Regions from separate parts of the Homo sapiens genome. Here region 1 is linked to region 2. Evidence: promoter capture Hi-C in human tissues and cell types (Jung and others, 2019). All regions are on one chromosome and are shown on one strand. Each heading gives the region's core, a stretch centred on a gene start or on the middle of the fragment in contact. The rest is flanking DNA. Distances are from core to core; before and after follow the strand shown.

Region 1 (3,193 bases), core at 525-3,024, 480 kb after region 2:
GATCAAATTGAGAAGCTGAAGAAAGATGAAACAACAGTGTAAAATCAGTGAGAAACACAAAGTCAGATAGAAAGAATAGAAGCAGGCTGGGCACGGTGGCTCACGCCTGTAATCCCAACACTTTGGGAGGCTGAGGCAGGTGGATCACCTGAGGTCAAGAGTTCCAGACCAGCCTGGCCAGCATGGCGAAACCCCGTCTCTACTAAAAATCCAAAAATTACCCGGGCATGGTGGCGCACACCTGTAATCCCAGCTACTCAGGAGGCTGAAGAAGGAGAATCCCTTGAACCCAGGAGGTGGAGGTTGCAGTGAGCTGAGATTGCACCACTGCACTCCAGCCTGCACAGTGGGAGCAAGACTCCATCTCAAAAAAAAAAAGAAAGAATAAAAGCAAATGTATATGAATGGGCTGAATTCTTCCTTTAAAAGATAGGCTGTTAGATTGGGTTGAAAAAGTACAATTCTATAACAGTTACAAGACACTTAACATGATAAAAGGAGCTTAAGTAAAAGAACATAGAGGTAGCAAGTAAATGCAGACAAAAAGAACACAGATATTGATATTGATATTAATATCAGATGAGGTGGAATTTAAGATTTTAGTTTATATGTAAATACAGTTTTATATAAAAAGCACACATTAGGTTATTGATTATATAGCTGTGGCTTTCTTGTGTTTCCCCCTTTTTGGACAACCCCCACAACATACATACACATCAGCACCTACCTCCATTCCCTGACCTCTAGTAATTCCTGTTAAATTGTATGAGAACAGTTTACTTAGCCAGCAGTAAGGCGTCCCAGGTTGGAAGTCAGAAGTCCCCTATGGATCTTTATGTCATCCCTCCCTAAGCTGCTTGCTTTTGCAACTAAGGCCGCAAAACTGGCTATTCCTTTTAACAAGAACCTTAGAAGCTTCCACTTTCTAGTGAAACTTAGGGGATAGATTATTCCCTCTGCCTTGGGTTATTTGCTTACCTACAGCCGCATGAGGTCATTAAGGCTTGTGTTTGTTTGAGGTCTCTTTGAAAGTACATAGATGCACTGTTGGAAATTTGTGCCTGGTGACTGCCGTGTTTGAAATTCTGCCCAAGAAGTCTATCAGCATAGTTCTGTGGACCAGAAAGAGCATCCTGGTAGAAGGTCAAGTAAATCATGGTCCTTATATTTTCTTAGTATTACTGTGTTATCATGGAGCTAACTTGAAAAGTAACTGACACACACACTCTTGCTGCCTCAAGCCTGCACACCTTAATCAAAATCAAGGAACCCCCTGAAGACTTCAATGGAACCACTTTTAGGTGCACGCCCCTGTGAGGACACGTCCATGCAAAAAGCCCAAAAAGCTTTACAGTAGTCACTTTAGAAGCACCTGACTTAGGAAATGTAGAGGTAGTGGCAGGCTCTCCATTTTGTAGGTGAGGAATTCATGCGGTCAACCAGTCCTCAGAGACCACTAACTAATTAGTGCTAACTAATCTCATCCAGAGTCTCTTACTTTTGTGTGACAAAAGGATGCTCAGGTTACTGAGAAGAAGAGTTAGACCTGGAGGAAGGGGATTCTCCCAGTCATGGCTGTAGGCGGTGGTGCCAAGGCTTGAATCTGAAAGCTAACACCATAATGATATCTCTGGTACAGGGGATGGGGCATAGGAAAGGCCATGAGCTATTTTGTGTTTTAGCCATGTTTCAGGATTGAAAAGTAGGTGGAGGACCTGCTAGCTTCCTCAATTGGATTTGGCCATTGAGTCGGTAGACTCACTGCTGGGTGCACATTAGAATCACCTGAATAACATCCCTAGGGAGTCTGTTTCAGTTGGTCTGGGGAGGGGCCTGCATGCTGGTGTTTTTTCAAATTGCAGATAATTCTAATATGCAGCTGAGAGTTGAGAACCACTGGGAGAGGCCTAGCAAAGATGGGCTCAGGTCCTAGCCGTGGGTGTGATATGCTTTGGAGAAAGTGAGGTTAAGTTAGCTTAGAAGTCTAGGATTTGTAGTCCCAGCCCCTTTCGTGGAAGAAGGTTAAGGGAGAGGAGACTAACCGCTGTTTAAGCAGAGGGAATAAGCTTGCTTTCTGAGGATCCCTGGACCTGATTCTTCACCCTCCATGCCCTGTGGGATCCTTGGGACAGAAACAAAAGTTGGCAAGGGGCAGGAAAGATGAGATGTTTAGATAAAGAGAACAGTGTTTAAACACGCATAGCAAAACAAAAGTTTTGAGGGAGGGGGCAAACAGGAGCAAGATGCTGTACATTTGGTCACATGCTAGTTTTTTTTACCTTGATTTCTGCCTTTGGGGTAAAAAAGTTTGGTGGATACATAACATTCAGACCAATTAAAAAGTCTGATTGCATGCATGGGAATCCATTTGTGGAAATGGATAAATACACATTCCCTCCACAGCCCTCACATCCCCTCCACAGCCCTCACATCCCAGAATCTTACCTGCGGAGGAACTGAGGACCCCTGTCTATCTCAAGGCCCCGATTCCATGTCTCCTGGAGTGGCACAAGCACTATGTCAAGAAATCTCTTTTCCCTGTCCCTGCCCAATCAGAAGTGGGTTCCTGTCCAGTGTTTTTGGGTGTTCCCATGGGGTCTTGGCTGATGGAGGTGTGGACAGCAGGTCTAGCATACTCCTCCCTTCTCAGTCGGTGGGAGCTGGCAGGCATGTCACCTCTGTCAGACCTCTGGGTAAGAAAGGGGCTCTGTTTTGGCCTATAGGTATAAGGTTTATCATGCTCCTGGTCAACAGGTCTTGCCTTCCCCTGTGGGGGTGACAGTAGCTGTTCTTTACATTTATGCAGCAGTTTGTACTTAAAATGCTTTCTCCCATCATGTCTTTTTATTCTCGGTGACCTTCATTGGGTAGGAACAGTATTATTTTTCTTGCTTTACAGTTGAGGAAACAGGCTCAGGAATGTTAGGTGCCTCATATACAATCATACAGCTTTTAAGGCACGAACCAAGGGCTAGATTTTTAGGTTGCTTGACACCCAGACAAGACCCTGATCACAGTTCAGACGGGTCATTTGCGTTCACCGTGGTAGTAGAAGGAACTCTTTAAGGGGACCCCTGTCCCAGATTGGTCTGGCTGGGGCTTATAGATAGTGATATGCAGAGGCTCTGCCTCTTAGGCATCAGCTTCCTCTTCAGCCAGGTAGAGTATTGTCCACTTATTGTGCAGGTAAAAA
Region 2 (2,772 bases), core at 177-2,676:
GTGGCTCATGCCTGTAATCTCAGCACTTTGGGAGGCCAAGACGGCTGGATCACCTGAGGTCAGGAATTCAAGACCAGCCTGATCAACATGGTGAAATCTCTGTCTCTACTAAAAACACGCAAAATTAGCCAGGTGTGGTGGCGCACGCCGGTAATCCCAGCTACTTGGGAGGCTGAGGCAGGAGAATCACTTGATCCGAGATCGTGTCACTGCACTCCAGCCTGGGCGACAGAGGAGGAAAAAAAAAAGCAGTCATTTCATTGCAGGTGCCTCCAGTAATTGCTCAGTGCAAACATACATAACTATTCTATCACAGACCATTAAGGGTGTCTCTCTCCATTTTTAGATTTTCCGCTTGAGTTTCCAGGTAGTTTCTCACCTGTTTTCAAGCAGGGTTGGGGCAGCCGTTTCTTCAACAGCGCCAGCCGTAAAACACAAAGATGGAGGCCAACCTCCCACACCCGGGCACCCTCCCTTCCCCCATACTGAGATTGACAAGTAAGCAACCCGGTGATCAGTACTAAAATGGAGACGTCAGCCAGGTGCGGTGGCTCACACCTGTAATTCCAGCACTTTGGGAGGCTGAGGAGGAAGGATCGCTTGAGCCCAGGGGTTCGAGGTCAGCCTGGGCAACATATGGAAACCCTGTCTCTATGAAATGTAGATCCTGTCTGTGAGTGTGTGTGTATAAATAAATATATATATATATATACAAATACATACATATATATATTTAAAAAATAAAATGGGGACGTCCAACACGTGTACTAGGGGCGGTGTCTCTGCCTGGGGAGGTGGTGATGACAGGGCAGGCTCCACCCAGGAGAAGCTGGAAGAATGGGAGTTCCGCGGCAGAGGAGGCGGGGCAGGGCGTTCCTCCAAACACAGGAATACCACGTGCGAAAACAAAGGGGTGTGCGAAGACCGGGTGCATGTGTACAGCTGCAAACTGGGGGAAAGGCGCCAGGCTTGGGCGATGAGGATTTGTTCCCCCATGGATTCCCTTCCTGCCCAGGGTCCGCTCTCGCCGGTCGAGGGTGCCTAACAATACTCCTTGCCACAAGGTTCGCAGCCGAAAAGGTCCTTCAAGTCCGGCCATCCAACTTTCACTTTTTATAGACAAATATACAGAGGCCTTAGATAAGTGAAACGGCTTGTCTCGGGTTACAGCTCTAGCCAACACAGGGTTTCTGACGGTCAGTCTGCGGATTTTCCTGCCTCTGGTCCGCAGGCACTGCCCAGGCTGTCAGCCCCAAACCCTACTCCGGGGACCGCGGTCAGGTTCGTCTCCGGGCGGACTACATCTCCCACAATGCCTTGGGCCCAGCCTCCCTCCTGCCGCCCGGCTGGGTGCCGTCTCCACCAACAGAAAGGCAGAATTTCCAGGGCCGTTCTCGGCAGCCAATGAGCGCGGCGGTGGGCGGGCCTCTCCCGTCCATTGTTCTCGGTGCCCCACGGGCTTGAGCCGGGGTGAATCTGGAGGGGCCGGGCCGAGCCCGGGGGCGCTTTCGCACGCGAAGCAACCGCTAGAGCAGGACCTGGTCTCCCGAGAGGTGAGCCGGAGAGGCAGGCCTGGAGCCACGCGGACCCCGGGCAGTAGCCCGAGGTGAGGGAATAGTGGGCCTGGAGCCAGCTGCCGGCAGCTCTGCTGGGGGAGGGGCGTCGGGGTCGCGCTCCGTATCCTGCGGGCCCTGCAGCCCCGATTTACGCGCCGGCTCCGCTCAGCGAACCGTCCCGGACGCGTCTCCCTGGCGGAGAGCTCCTTGCCTCTCCTACCGAGAAGCGCAGGCTTTGGACGGGAAGGGGCATTCGACGACATCCCGCGCAGCGTACACGTTTTACAGATGGGGAAACTGAGGTTCAGAGGGGGCGTGTCGTGCCCCAAGTCAGACCGCAAATTAGCTGACCTGGCACACTTTTCCCAGGCTCCCAAGTAGGAAGAGTTCTCTTACACCATATGCCAGTATTTCTTCTAGTCATTTGAGTAAATACACGTTGAGAGCTTCGGTTTTCCCACTAGCTTTTATTTTTTGTCCTTTTTTTTTTAAGCTTTTGTCAGCTTTTCTCCCCTTTTCATTGAGGGAGGGTTGTTAGTTGAGTCTTTATGATGTAGTAATGATTTTTTAAAAAATTTTTTTATTTTTGTAGAGACTGGGTCTCACTCTGTTGCCCAGGTTGGTCATGAACTCCCGGCCTCAAGCCATCTTCCCTCCTCGGCCTCCCAAAGTGCTGGAATTACAGGCGTGAGCTACAGCGCTTGGGCTAAAAATAATTTTGTATTGCTTTTATAATATTTTAAGTCGTTTGCAATTCCACTGCTTTCAATATTTTGTAGGTGCCGTCCCGTTCTTTTTTCCTGTGAGTTCATTTTTTTTTTTTTTTTTTTTTGAGACGGAGTTTTGCTTTTGTTGCCCAGGCTGGAGTGCAATGGCCTGATCTCCGCTCACCGCATCCTCTGCCTCCCGGGTTCAAGCGATTCTCCTGCCTCAGCCTCCGGAGTAGCTGGGATTACGGGCATGCGCCACCACGCCTGGCTAATTTTGTTTTTAGTAGAGACGAGGTTTCTCCGTGTTGGTCAGGCTGGTCTCGATCTTCCGACCTCAGGTGATCCGCCCGCCTCAACCTGCCAAAGTGCTAGGATTACAGGTCTGAGCCACCGCGCCCGGCTGTGAGTTCATTTTTAAAGGGAATTGAGGACTTACTGTGTCTATGGTTTTTCTGCCCTGCTGATTTTGTGTTTATCCATTATTTTCCTATCAGAAGGATTATCTT

Evidence for each region. Contacts are between HindIII fragments. The study calls those that stand out against the background at their distance.
Region 1: a fragment that was not itself captured here is called in contact with the fragment with the promoter of ZSCAN2 in region 2 in 2 of the 25 tissues and cell types used here (lymphoblastoid cells and thymus).

Annotation. Positions count from the first base shown.
Region 1 is chr15:85,079,547-85,082,739 of GRCh38, forward strand. All of the region lies in intron 5 of PDE8A (phosphodiesterase 8A), which reads left to right. Among named protein-coding and RNA genes, the nearest start is that of PDE8A, 99 kb to the left of the region's middle. The HindIII fragment of the contact is 5,315 bases long and covers 1-3,193 here.
Region 2 is chr15:84,599,583-84,602,354 of GRCh38, forward strand. ZSCAN2 (zinc finger and SCAN domain containing 2) reads left to right here and starts at 1,427. Exons shown (of 3, transcript NM_181877.4): 1 at 1,427-1,553. LOC105370947 (a long non-coding RNA gene) reads right to left here. Exons shown (of 4, transcript NR_186225.1): 4 at 1-221. RefSeq lists an enhancer at 1,275-1,324 and a silencer at 1,645-1,794. The HindIII fragment of the contact is 21,972 bases long and covers 1-2,772 here.